Regions from separate parts of the Homo sapiens genome. Here all the other regions are linked to region 4. The links are contacts of gene promoters, found by promoter capture Hi-C in blood cells and fetal thymus (Javierre and others, 2016). All regions are on one chromosome and are shown on one strand. Each heading gives the region's core, a stretch centred on a gene start or on the middle of the fragment in contact. The rest is flanking DNA. Distances are from core to core; before and after follow the strand shown.

Evidence for each region. Contacts are between HindIII fragments. The CHiCAGO score rates a contact against its expected background, and 5 or more counts as called.
Region 1: a contact is called between a fragment that was not itself captured here and the fragment with the promoter of CHST15 in region 4, in 1 of 17 cell types (monocytes). The highest score is 5.5, in monocytes.
Region 2: a fragment that was not itself captured here is called in contact with the fragment with the promoter of CHST15 in region 4 in 3 of 17 cell types (monocytes, M0 macrophages and neutrophils); the score reaches 8.1 in monocytes.
Region 3: a contact is called between a fragment that was not itself captured here and the fragment with the promoter of CHST15 in region 4, in 3 of 17 cell types (monocytes, neutrophils and M0 macrophages). The highest score is 10.2, in monocytes.
Region 5: a fragment that was not itself captured here is called in contact with the fragment with the promoter of CHST15 in region 4 in 6 of 17 cell types (neutrophils, monocytes, M0 macrophages and 3 more); the score reaches 12.5 in neutrophils.

What each region holds. Positions count from the first base shown.
Region 1 is chr10:124,454,122-124,456,821 of GRCh38, reverse strand. No RefSeq gene overlaps it. Among named protein-coding and RNA genes, the nearest start is that of NKX1-2, 5.4 kb to the right of the region's middle. The HindIII fragment of the contact is 2,105 bases long and covers 381-2,485 here.
Region 2 is chr10:124,353,290-124,355,989 of GRCh38, reverse strand. No RefSeq gene overlaps it. Among named protein-coding and RNA genes, the nearest start is that of OAT, 64 kb to the left of the region's middle. The HindIII fragment of the contact is 6,746 bases long and covers 1-2,700 here.
Region 3 is chr10:124,393,601-124,396,300 of GRCh38, reverse strand. No RefSeq gene overlaps it. Among named protein-coding and RNA genes, the nearest start is that of OAT, 24 kb to the left of the region's middle. The HindIII fragment of the contact is 2,383 bases long and covers 101-2,483 here.
Region 4 is chr10:124,092,337-124,095,036 of GRCh38, reverse strand. CHST15 (carbohydrate sulfotransferase 15) reads left to right here and starts at 1,439. Exons shown (of 8, transcript NM_001270764.2): 1 at 1,439-1,568. The HindIII fragment of the contact is 12,111 bases long and covers 1-2,700 here.
Region 5 is chr10:124,376,039-124,378,738 of GRCh38, reverse strand. No RefSeq gene overlaps it. Among named protein-coding and RNA genes, the nearest start is that of OAT, 42 kb to the left of the region's middle. The HindIII fragment of the contact is 6,926 bases long and covers 1-2,700 here.

The DNA of each region.
Region 1 (2,700 bases), core at 184-2,683, 360 kb before region 4:
GCGTGGCCATTTTTTGAGGCTAGATACCGCAACAAGTATACCAGTGTCAGAAACACCACACGGGGTTAAATTCATGGTGGTTCTACGCCTGCATTTTTATTTTCTGTTCCCTTCCCTTCCTCCCTTCCTTCCTTCCTTCCTTTCTTCCTTCCTTCCTTCCTTCCTTTCTGAGACAGGGTCTTGTACTATGACCCAGACTGGAGTGCAGTGGCATGACTCATAGCTCACTGCAGCCTCAAACTCCTGGGCTCAAGTATCCTCTCGCCTCAGCCTCCCAAAGTGCAGAGATTATAGGTGTGAACCACTGTGCCTGGCCCCTGCATTTTTCTTTATGAAAAGCATGGTACCCAGCATGGATGACCTGAATAAAAACATAAGCTTGTTCCACAGATGCTCAGCATGGGAGTCAGACCCTTTATGAACCTCTATCCGTACCTAAATATTTCTTGATCCGATTTTTGTCTTCAGCCTATATGGTCTCTCATGGGTTTCCAATCCATCTTAGTCAAACTGTGGAGCTTTGGGTTTGTGTTACTGGGCCACCATTTATTGCTTTCGACTCTTCAACCTACCAAACACCAAGGTACTGGTGGGCACAGGGATGCACGCTCTGCCCTCCCTGACTTTAAGACAATCCAAGGACCAGAATCTGTATGCCAGGCAGTGTGATAAAGGCTGTGCCTGTCAGGGTTCCTTGACTCTGGCTAATTGAATTCCAAAATGCAGAGGGGAAGAGAAGGTTGGGAAGAGTGTAGGCAATTTACAAAATCAAAGGAAATGCTGAACAACCAGACCTGGGCAAGTACTGGAACCATCAGCGTCAAGAGTGGGAAATAACAGATTATTTAGTTTTGGGCACCACTGCCACAATGAAGCGGTGTCACTCTGCTTCAGATACTCCCGGGAGAGAGGCCAGTAGGACTCTACTGCAGGGGCTCACTCTTACCTCCCGGCCAGAAGAAGGTTGGGGGGCCTGATTGGCAGTCCCATCACTACCACATACAAGGGTGGGGGCCCAGGGGGATCTCATCAAAATCAGCTACAGACACCAGAAAAGGGGGAGTGGATCCTCAGATCAGGCAAAACCAAGAGATGTCCATCAAGGGCTATGATGGCAGCGTGCCCCAGAAACAATGTGGGAAGGAGTGCTCCAGTCCGCGTGGGGTAAGTCAGGGAAGCCCTCAAGAAGAAATAGTATTGTAGGGATGCAGTGAGGCTCCCAGGGAACCCGGAATGGAACAACCAGCATCAGGAAGAAGTCAGCAACAGTGGCAGCAGCTGGAACCCACCTGTCTGCCTGTCTCTCGTGGCTTCTCCGCTCTGCTCTGCACTTGTTTTTGTTGTTTGTTTGTTTGTTTTTGAGACGGAGTTTCATTCTTGTTGCCCAGGCTGGAGTGCAATGGTGTGATCTCGGCTCACTGCAACCTCCGCCTCCCAGGTTCAAGTGATTCTCCTGCCTCAGCCTTCCCAGTAGCTGGGATTACAGGCGCCTGCCACCACACCTGGGTAATTTTTGTATTTTCAGTAGAGACAGGGTTTCGCCATGTTGACCAGGGTGGTCTTGAACTGCTGACTTCAGGTGTTCTGCCCGCCTCGGCCTCCCAAAGTGCTGGGATTACAGATGTAAGCCACCACGTCCAGCCTGCACACTTGTTTTTGACTCTCCATGTCCCTGCTGAGTCTCTGCATCTCCATAACTTCTGTGAGCATGTGGTCCTCAGCGGCCACCCGTCTCCATTTTCCTTGCCCATTAAGCTCAAGCACCCACCAGTGGCAGGGAGCATGCCCTAAGATGAGGGAGTTGATTTTTTTTAACTTTGGTTTGGGGTCAGGTGGGAAGGCTATATTTTCAACTCAGCTTTCACAAGTTAGTCTATGAGGTGTTTTTTTTTTTTTTTTTTTTTTGCCGGGGGGAATACTTGCTGTGCTTGGCAGCCAGAGTTCAAAGCTCTGGTGGGAAATGGTAAATGCTAGCCTTTAATTGTAAATGACCTCTCCAGCACCAAGGGAGATAGAGTCCAGTAAACAAACAATGGATTCTGCTATCTGTGGCTTCCTTCTAAAACCTAGTGCTTACCCTCTCCCATATTACAGACCAATTTGAGTAGAAGAAGCACATCTTGGGGAAGGTGGCTGAGGTACTGGGAAAAGGGGTTACCCACAGGCTGTCTGGCAGTTGAGGTGTCCCTCTTTGTCATCAAGCTGTGTCTTATGAAGCTGTCTCTTTGGCACATATATCCTACCCTGGGGGCTGGCTCAAAACGCAGGGTTTTACCTGGAGAATTTCAGTTGCATTTTACTTTAGGAACATAAGATTTTATCTAAAATGCTTTAACACGGCTCATAATATTGCCCCCTCCCCCCCACTCCCTCTGCATAAACTGCAAATTCTTTCCATTGTTAACACTATTCATGGCACTCAGCGGCTCTTCAAGGCTGTGCTGGAATTATAGGCACCTTTGTTTGTGGAATACCTTAGGAAGCTTGGCACCATTGATTTGCATCAGTGCCTCCGGAATAGCCTTTGCCTTCTCCTTAAAGATACTATCTAAACTGTGAAATTCATTAAATAGCCCCAGAAATGGATCAGGTTATTTAACACAACATCCCTAATGGTGCAATATCTCAGCTGTCTGCACGGATAGTGAACATTGTCTTGGATAGTGTTATCAGCCCAGGACACCCGCTATGAATATTGAT
Region 2 (2,700 bases), core at 1-2,500, 260 kb before region 4:
GCTCTATTGCCCAGGCTGGAGTGCAGTGGCGCAATCTCGGCTCACTGCAACCTCCACCTCCCGGGTTCAAGTGATTCTCATGCCTCAGCCTCCCGAGTACCTGGAGTTACAGGCGCCCACCACCACGCCCGGATAATTTTTGTATTTTTAGTAGAGACGGGGTTTCACCACGTTGGCCAGGCTGGTCTCGAACTCCTGACCTCAGGCGATCCGCCCACTTTGGCCTCCCAAAGTGCTGGGATTACAGACTTGAGCCACCACGCCCTGCCTCATTCTTTCTATTTTTTTTGTACTAATTAAGCATCCCCCCTCTCCCTGCCCCCACCCCTAACTATCCTTCCCAGCCTCCGGAAACCATCCTTCTACTTTCTATGTCCATGAATTCAATTGTTTTGATTTTTAGATCCCACAAATAAGTGAGAATGCATGACATTTGTCTTTCTGTGCCTGGCTTATTTATGTACATGTGTTGAAAATAAAGCTCGGATCTAATTCTATTTTTTTCAATTTGCTTTTCACTTTAAAAATAAAAGGGGAATACTTTATCACTGTCATTACATATTCTCCCAGTCATTAAGTTTTTGACTGTATCATATTCCATCTTATTAATGGGTCGTCATAGGCCAATCATTTTAATTTCCTTGGAGAAAAAGAAAGTTTTGGTTGCATCAGTTCATTCATTCATTCAGCCTGTATTTATTGAACACTCCCAGCATGCGCAGTGCTGGCTGCTCCCCTGGGTCCTGCCTTCCCCGTGCCTGGCCCGAGGAGGGCGGGGCCCTGGGTTCTGAACGCCGGCCTCCCCAGCCTGTGGAGAATATTTCAACACCATCTGTAGCCTTTTGAACTCCACTCCAGTCAATGCCGATAACGAGAGCGATGAGCCTCATTCTTCTATGTGTTTTTAGAAAATTAGAAAACATCGCCATAAAAAGTTAAGAAGCACCGCGATGATTCAGCCACCAGCAGAGTTTACACTTCCGGCTCTCATCCCACAGCTGCCTCCCCCGAGGAAATCAAATGTGCTTCTCATTAGCGGAGCTTTTGAAGAGAAAGCTGAGCTCTGGGCTTTTTGAGATAAGGGAAAAGAGGGAGATGAGGCTGTTCAACGTGCGGAATGAATGAGCGGGTGGTGGGAAGCACGAGGCCTGCGGGGGGAGGGGATGGGGCGATCGGGAGCATAAAACGTGGTCCTCCCTCTGACTGCCTTCTCCTCAGTCCCAGGGACTCAATGAGCCAGTTTTCTGTCATCGTATTAACTTCATGGAATGGTTGAAAATGTCCCAGTTCCAGAGAACATGCCATTTCCCCCAGCTCTGCCTGGAAGCATCTGGGACCTGGGCTCCGGTCAGTGGCCTGGGTTTGAATCCCAGCTTCACCTGTCCTCAGTGGGGAATCTGGGGCGTGTCTGAGCCTCAATGGCTGCAGCTGAGACATGGGAATAATATCACCTACGCTAAAGGACCATAGTGAGACTCAAACGACACAGAAGTGCCTCCATCCTGTCTCCTCTATCATGGACCACTTCTTTGAGTCCTTCCTTTGCCAAACTCTCAGTCTTTGTCCTCTATCTTGGTTTGGTTTCCTCACTCCTAAAGCAGACCCTGAGACCGGCATTGGAGGGAGGGGGATGTATTTGGGAGGTGATCCTGGAAGCACCTGTCGTGGAGAGGTGAGCCCGGGAAGGCTCACTATTAGGGGCAGCTGACCCCTCTCCCCCGGGGGGTCTCGGGAAGCAGAAGCCTGGGGCATCCCACCAGAGGGGTGAGGTTGCTGGGAGCTTTCGCCGCCAGCAAATCTGCTCAGCTCACAGGTTGAGTGCCTCCCCCAGGCCTGTATTTCGCGGTGCTCTGGGCCTATAGATGTCCTTGGCAACCTGCATTGCCTGGGAATTCCCCTGATGGGCACAGGGCTGGTTCAAATCCTTGCGCACTTAGTGAGCACAGCTAAGGAAGAAGCTGGGACAAAGACAAGGGACCCAGGAGGGAGATGGGAGGCCACTCACGGGACGGCGGCCTGAGCTCTCAGTAAGTGGCAAGATTAGATTTCCTTTCACCATCCTCAGCGCTTCTTTGAGAATTTGCCTGTCTCAGCTGTGCTCAGAGGAAAAATGATTTTCTTCTCCTTCGCGGGGCTGGGAGTGTTGGTGGCAATGCATGAGAGCTGAGTGGGGGATTTTCTTTTCCTTCGTGGGGCTGGGAGTGTTGGTGGCAATGCGTGAGAGCTGAGTGGGGCAGTGTTGGCCTGGATCTCGGGGCCATGGAGCCTTCAGGGGCTTGAGACCACAGCTGTCCTGTGGTGGGGTGGGGGGGACTCCTGCTGCAGGGACACTGGTGATGCCAAGTTTCACCCAGGGTGGGTCGTGGCTTCCTCTGCTCCCCCAGCCTGTGCCTCAGGGTCTCTGGCTGCAGCATGGAGCTTCAGGGTGGGCATATGGTTTGGAGCCGGGAGGAACTATCCCCCGTGGTCTGGAATGTTGGGAAGACCTCATTCCTGCACCCCTAAACCCACGCGTGTGATCCAAGGGGACCTGTGCAGGATGAGGAGCCTGTCATGGGCTGCCCTGGGAGAGGCTCTTACCCACCTTGGCCAGTACTCTCTGCACCCATGGGGCTCAGGCTCGGAGGATCTCCCACGGGGACTGAGGGGCAGGTGGCCATGCCTGGACTCTTGAGGGCGGGATCTCCAGAAGCTGCCTGA
Region 3 (2,700 bases), core at 43-2,542, 300 kb before region 4:
TGATCTCCTGACTTTGTGATCCACCTGCCTCGGCCTCCCAAAGTGCTGGGATTACAGGCGTGAGCCACTGCGCCCAGCCTATCAGTTACATTTTTAAGCTTTTTGAGATTTATTTATTCCATGTGTTTTCTTTTTTTTGTATTCCTTTTTTTTTTTTGAGACAGAGTCTTGCTCTGTTGCCTAGGCTGGAATGCAATGGCGTGATCTCAGCTCACTGCAACCTCCGCCTCCCAGGTTCAAATGATTCTTGTGCCTCAGCCTCCCAAGTAGCTGGGACAATAGGCCTACACCACCATGCCCAGCTAATTTTTGTATTTTTAGTACAGATGGGGTTTCACCATGTTGGTCAGGCTGGTCTCGAACTCCTGACCTCAGGTGATCCACCCACCTCGGCCTCCTAAAGTGCTGGGATTACAGGTATGAGCCACTGTGCCCGGCATATTCCATGTGTTTTCTAACAGCATTTCAACTCTGATCTACAGAAAACTAGAAGTTATAAAAAGAATACATCTAAAAGATAGGTCTCATACTTCCCTTTCAAAGTAGCGCGTTCTCTGTGCATATACTAATATTTATCATTTTTTTAAAGTTATCCTTTTTATATGTGGTGTTCTGCAACTTTTTCTTTTTTCTTTCTTTCTTTTTTTTTTTTTTTACCTGAACAGAGTATTTTGGATGTTTTTCCGTCTTATTCTCAAATAATTAGTATTTCATCATATATGGGTATACTGTAATTTCATCTCATATTGGGACCATTTGACTTGAATAAAACTTGTGACCACTTCATATCTTTTCACAATGGTGCAAAAGTGCACAGTGTTTCTATGGAGTAAATCCCTAGAAGTGACTTGCTTTTCAAAGAAAAAAAACTCAAGTTAATTGTGTCACATTGCTCCCTGCCTCCCCCAGGTTCTAAAAAGTTACCTCTTAGCAGTATGAGAGTTGAGTCTTTGGTACTCTGTCAGGGTAGTGCTCTGTCACTGAATGACTACGTTTAAATGAGTGAGCAGTTACTGGGAGGCCTCCTCATACCAATTACAACTGGGGTGGCACCCAGGCCAGGTAAGCTCTCCAGGGCATTCAAGGTTGAGAACCTGTCTTAGGAATCTTATTAAGATGCAGATTTTTGTTTTGGAGACATAGTCTCACTGTCACCTAGGTTGGAGTGAAGTGGTATGATCTCGGTTCACTGCAACTTCCACCTCCCAGGCTCAAGCGATTCTCCCACTTCAACCTCTCTACTAGCTAGGACCATGGCCGTGTGCCACCAGATTTGGCTAATTGGTTTGTATTTTTGGTAGAGACAGGGTTTTGCCATGTTTCCCAGGGTGGTCTTGAACTCCTTAGCTCAAGTGGTCCACCTGCCTTGGACTCCCAAAGTGCTGGGATTATAGGTGTGAACCACAGTGCCCAGCCTTAAGATGCAGATTCTAATTCAGTCTCTCTCTGTGTGTGTGTACTGGAGATTCCACATTTGCAGGTTGCCTTAGGACATACTATTATTATGATGAGTCAGTTTAATTTGCATTCAGTTATTCTCACCAGAGATGACCTTAGGGCAGGTGATTTTTAACAAAGCTATCTTCCTGCTAAATTCTTTGAAGGCTTTAAAAGTCAGAGAGGACCCAGAGGTAGGAAAGTACAGGGAGTTGTGGAGACGGTGGCCAATGACAATGAGGGCCTTTGGGCTTAATTTGGTGAGCAGTGGGGTCACTGAAGAAAGGGGTTGAAGCAGGGGCGTGGCGTGATCCTATTAGAAAATCCTAGGCTGGGTGCGGTGGCTCATGCCTGTAATCCCAGCACTTTGGGAGGCTGAGGTGGGCGAATCACCTGAGGTCGGGAGTTTGAGACCAGCCTGACCAACGTGGAGAAACCCCATCTCCACTAAAAATACAAAAAATTAGCCAGGCGTGGTGGTGCATTCCTGTAATCCCAGCTACTCGGGAGGCTGAGGCAGGAGAATCACTTGAACCTAGAAGGCAGAGGTTGCAGTGATCAGAGATTGCACCATTGCGCTCCAGCCTGGGCAACAGAGCGAAACTCTGTCTCAAAAAGGAACAAACAAAAGAAAATCCTTTCTGGCTGATGGTTTAGGGCTTACTCATGCAGTACACACTGGTTGTAGGGCCTCAGGGCCTATGTCCAGTGGTGAACAGGTGGGCAGGAACCTGCTGACGGCACTTAGTGCCCTGGGGATGAAGTGGAGGGGTGGTGAAGCGGGAGGCAGGGAGAGTCAGACACAGGCTTTGGATTTGGGGTAGAACATCAGGGCAACTGCTGTGGTTAGATACTCCCTTTCCTTAGCTGTGAGGAAGTGGGATGCTATCTACCTTTCAGGGGAGTTAGGAGGATTAAAAAAGATGGAGTAGGTCAAGCTCCTGGTGGAGGACCTGGCACAGAATTACAGATCAATAAATAAGTTGCTAGCTCCCCCTCCCCACCCCCAACACATACAGTTGGAGGAGTTTGGGAGAGAGGAAGCTTCGGGAGAAGGATTCTTTCAGATAAGGGTGACATCTAGATAAGGAAGAGATGGCGTAGAGCTGATAGCCTGGCTGTATCACAAAGGGGATGTCAAGTTAAAGGAAGAAGCTGAGGCAAAATTAATAATCATAAAGTTATTCATGATAGCAGGAGGCAGACAAAATGCCTAGGCTGATAGGGGCGGTCCCCAGTGAAACACCACCTTCAAGCCAAAAA
Region 4 (2,700 bases), core at 190-2,689:
TTTTTGTTTAAAAAAAAAATAAAGAACAAAAATCACTAAGTGGAGTCTATATGGAAAAAGCAATCTAGTCTGAGATTCTAAGGCAAGTCTCTTTGCTGCATTCATCTTTCTTCGCAGATTTTATGTAAGAGGCATTATTTGCAGGAAAACAAGACAGGATTTTAAAGAACTCCCCTCTCATCCCGGTTTCCCATCTGCAGTTATAATCCTCTGATGGTGACCTCTGCATTAGTTGCCATGGGTGCTGAGCAGAAGTTTATGACCTCAGGGTGGACTGTAGCTTCAGGGGGGCGAGATGAAGCCTCCGGCAATAAAGAGATAATGGGGAGAAGCCACTGTCAGGAATGACCCTTCGGTGGCATGTAGTCTACAGTTAACGGAGCACTTTCATTTCCACTTCTGGTTGCTTCGAGGAAGAGGGTGCTGGACTCTGGCCACGGGGACACAGGCCGGCAAGAGACTGCAGATTCTTTTTGTCCCTTGGACCTCAGTTTCCTGAGAGGCTGGGCTTGGTGCTCCAAGCGCCCTCTGAGCGAATCTGCCAGAATTTCATGTGTCTTTTCTTTAACTGATGGCATCTTCAGCCCAGAGTCAGTGGAGTCGGCCACTGGTGCCGCTTTCTTGCCCTCGGGCTGTCCAGGTGGTTCCCTGGGGCAGCCGACTCCAGGCCACTGCGGCAGGCCGTGGCGATCGGGGTCCTGCAGAGCTTTACCTCCCCCGCGGAAGCAAAACACGCCGGGCCAAAGAGCCGGGCCAGCCTTCCCGGGATGCAAAAATACAACAGAGGGCGCCGAACTCACCAGCGCTGTGGCCTTGAATATTAATGTACGGGCTGGCTCCAGACCGCCAAGTTCCTTAAAGATGTCTCTGGCGGCCGGGCGCGGTGGCTTACGCCTGTAATCCCAGCACTTTGGGTTGGGGGGGCGGACGGATCATCTGAGGTCGGGAGTTCGAGACCAGCCTGACCAACATGGAGAAACCCCGTCTGTACTAAAAATATAAAATTAGCCTATTTTGCGTGGTGGCGCATGCCTGTAATCCCGGCTACTCGGGAGGCTGAGGCAGGAGACTCTCTTGAACCCGGGAGGCTGAGGCAGGAGACTCTCTTGAACCCGGGAGGCGGAAGTTGCAGTGAGCCGAGATCGCGCCATTGCATTCCAGCCTGGGCAACAAGAGCGAAACTCTGTCTTTAAAAAAAAGAAGTATCTGGCAAGGTGTCACTGCCAGATTTCAGGGGTTTCGATGTGCTTTTATTTGGAATCACCGCAACACACAAGCAGTGTTGACTCGGAGGGGGAGGGGGCAGGGGCCAAACCCACCGCTCGGCGCACACGCCTTGATCTCACATTCCAGACTGGAGCTGATGTGTGTCAGCGCGACATGGGGCGGGGGGAGGGTTCTCCTCGGATGTTTCATTCGCCGTCTGCACGTCACTCCCAAACTTTTCCTCCCAGCGCTCGGGGAGTCAGGTTGACGCGCCCTGGATGCGGGGCTAGAGGCTCGGGGCTGGGCGCGCTCCCGCGGAGCCGGAGCCGCAGAGGCTCCCGGGCTGGACTCAGGCTTCTCAGGTACAAGTTAGGTGCCAGACGCCGAGGTGGGGTCGGCGAGGAGCGGCGGTAGGAGGTCTGGCCCTGGGCTCGGGGCTCCGGCGCCCCTCCGCGGGTTCGGGCCAGGCAGCGCCGGCGGCGGCCGGGGCTGGGCGTAGGGAGTCCGGGCCGGCGGAGGCGGCGCGCAGCCTCACTCCCCGCGGCGCTCCCGGCGCGGTGGTGGCGGTGGCGGTGGCGGCGGCGGCCCAGGCAGACAATGAACTTGCGAGCTCGACGAGCCGAGGCAGGTTTGGGCCCCGGGCTCCTTGGCCCGGCCTCCCCGAGGCTTCAGCGATCCCCAGCGGGAGGAGTCCCTTCGCCATTGGTCCTGGCCGCGCTCCGGGCGCCCTGCGCGCTTGAGGACCCCGCGGGAAGGGTTACCCAGCGGCGACACACGCCCCCTCCCTCGCAGAGAGGACGCGGCCGGAGCGAGGGGACAGGGGACCGAGCAGTGGCGTGGTGGCGCCGTGGATAGCCGGAGGCCGGCGGGGGGCGCAAGCCGCGTGGAACGCACCGGCGGGCTGTCCGGGAGAAGGAGCCCAGTAGTCGGAATCGGGGCGCCCCTGCACCGCCCAGCTCTGGGAGCCGCAGGCGGGGGACCGACCGACGGACAGACCAGTGCTTTCACGGTGTGAGCGCGCGTCGTTTGGCGGTAGGGGACGGGGATTCCCCCCAGCCTTGCGCTCCGCCCCCACACCCCTATCGCACTTTGGGGAAGTTTCCAGGCGCGGCCCGGGGCAGGTAAGTGGGCATCCGCCACTCTCTCCCCGGTTGCGAGCTCGGATGCGCTTCCAGAACCCTGGCTCTAGCCTTGCGGCGGTTCCGGGCGGGGAGGCCAGAGCTCTCCCGCGCCTAAGCCCGTGGGACCCGGTTCAGGGAAGGGGGATGGCGGGGGCGGGCCTGGGAAGAGATAGGGGAGCGGCTGAGCCCCGAGCGGTGTGAACTTTTGCTCCCCGCCCCCTCCTCCTTCCTCCTCCCCGCCCCGCCCCCACTGCTGTCCCCTCCCTGCGCCCCGCCGCGTCTCGGGAGGCGGCGTGACTCGGGAGTTGCCGGCGCTTCCCGGCGGTGGCGGCGTCTCTGGCCGGCCTTGGTGCGGCGAGCCGAGCGAGGCAGC
Region 5 (2,700 bases), core at 11-2,510, 280 kb before region 4:
TGGCTTGCAGCTTTCTTTCCGGGCCTTCTGTCCATATCCTTGCATAACTATCCTTCCAAAATTGGGCACTGTGGGCACCATGGAGTCTGGGAGGACTGAAGTTAACTTACCTTCCATGGTTACTTGAAGGGTAACATTCTTGGCCACCCTTGGCTCTGCAGATGTCGAGCAGACAGGCCCTCATGCTGCGTGGGTGGGCAGGTGTACTGTCCACCTGCCCCTGGTGAGCCTGGGTGGGCCAAGAGGGGCGTCAGCACCACTGGCCACACCCAGCATCTTCTTTGCATCTGTCCTGACCCTTTTCCATCTGACCTCGTCTACATAACCTTCTTCCTTCTTGGACTCAGGCCTCCTCCATCCCTCCTCACTGCATTCTCCCTCCCGTGAAGGCTGATTCTTTCCCCAAATGGCATCTGCGTTTCCACGCCACCAGGTTTGCAATAAACATTCTGGGGCTAGGCTGTGTTGGGCGGGCAGGAGTTGGCAGTCTTCAAGAGGACAAGCCCAGTGCCCAGTTATTCTTCCCTTCCCCTGCCCTCTGCATCCCCTCCCTCCCTCCCTCCCTTCCTTCCTCCCTCCCTCCCTCCCTCCCTCTCTTTCTCTCTTTCCTTTCTTCCTTTTTGAGACAGAGATCTTGCTATGTTGCCCAGGCTGGTCTCGAACTCCTGGCCTCAAGTGATCCTCCTGCCTCAGCCTCCTGAGTAGGTGGAATTACAAGTGTGCACCTGGCTCCCCACACCATCTCTGAATCACATTCACTGGGTGCTGAAGTGCTAGGTTCCAGAATGGTCCTCGCCATCATCAGCATTCCACTTCATCCTCCCGGGATCCCAAGGCAGGCACTGCCATTAGCACCGCTGTGTACGTGTGGCCCAGCAAGTTTGCCCAACATTGTCCTCCCGCGCTGAGAGGGCACTGCCACAAGCACTCTGTGCTGGACGTTTGCCATGCAGCATTGTATCTAAGTCTCACAACAGCCTTGAGAAGGAAGCATTATGAGGCCCATTTCACATGTGTGCAAATGGAAGCCTGGGAGCCAAGTCAGCGCTGGCCACACAAAGGTGACGAGGCACAGTCCCAGCCCTGGGGGAGCTCATGGTCCACCAACGGCATTCTTCCTGACTCTAGGGGACTCTCCGACCACTTCTGCAAAGAAGCAGGACAGGGCTGGGTGCTCCCACTGCCATCTTCTTTCCCCACCTCCCTTTATTCATTTTCTAAACCATCAATCCCCAGAGCAGGTGCTGGACCTGCAGCCGGTGCCCATAAACACTCAGCTGATTTAAGGGGGAACAAGGTGGGTGCTGTGCTGGAAGAAGGGGGAGAGAAGAGTTGAGAAAAGGGCACGAGGAAGGTGGTCTCGAGGACTGGAGTGCTACCCCCATGCGGTCTTCACTCCAAAAGATGGCACAGTGTGGGGGGCCTACTTGGTGCCAACAGCCGGGCTACCTCCGAGACAAAGCCTGGCACCCGAGAGGAAGGGGAGCTACTGGCAGGGAACCCCATGCACTCTTGTCCCTTGGAGACCCCAGAAGATCTCAAAGAAAGGGGCAGAGCCACAGTCTTCCAAGGCTTCTGTAGGGTCTTTCGTGCATGAGAGAAAACTCAGGCACAACCTCTGTGAACAACCCCTACAGGGACTCAGGGGCTGGGAGAGACACCAACTGCCACCCCTTGGAGGTTGTGCCCAGAGGTGGGGGCTGAAGACCCACTGGCTCTTTGAAGTGGAATTTTCAAAAAATTTCTTTATACTGAAGTTCACAAATCTGTAATCTCGCCTGGGATAATGGGGTAGGGGTCAGGGCAGGAGAGGATCCTAGTTCTTGAGACTCCATCGGGCTTTGTCTGCCACTGGCGGGCACTCTCGGGAGGATTTGAATGGTGAATGGGCCAAGGGGATGGAGGCCTCAAACGGACTTGACTTCCGCCCACCTGCAGAAGGAGGCTGATGGCTCTGATGGCTCTATAATAACAAGCCTTTCTCCTGTCCAAAAACCTGCAGGAATGACTGTGGGGAAATGACAGCATTTCCCCCAGCTCCTTACCCCATCCTCTACCTTCCGTCCGGCTTGTGTACTGTCATCTGGAAGGAGGAAAAGATGTGATGTGATGTCTTTATTAACATCACCTTTGGGAGAAGCGGGGGAAGCCCGGGGTGCTGGGAGGAACTAACTTGGCCACACAGAACCCGAGTGGAGGGGCTCTAAGGGCACCGGAAGGCAAGGTGGTCTTACAGCAGTGTCAGACCTAGGGAGCGGACGGATGTGCTGCCGGTGTGAGTGTCTGTGGAGAAAGGACTCTGTTCCCTCATTTGCTGAGGTTCACCCACCTGGGTCATGGTACTCGACCCCCTCTTCCCATCTCCAGGAAGTCTCTGTCCCAGACACCATCTTTATTTTTTTTATTTTTATTTTTTGAGACGGAGTTTCTCTTGTAGCCCAGGCTGGAGTGCAATGGCGCGATCCCGGCTTACTGCAACCTCTGCCTCCTGGGTTCAAGTGATTCTCCTGCCTCAGCCTCCTGAGTAGCTGGGATTACAGGCACCAGCCACTACACCCAGCTAATTTTTGTATTTTTAGTAGAGATGGGGTTTTACCACTTTTGGCCAGGCTGGTCTCAAAGTCCAGACCTCAGGTGACCTGCCCGCCTCGGCCTCCCAAAGTGCTGGGATTACAGGCATAAGCCACCACGCCCGGCCCC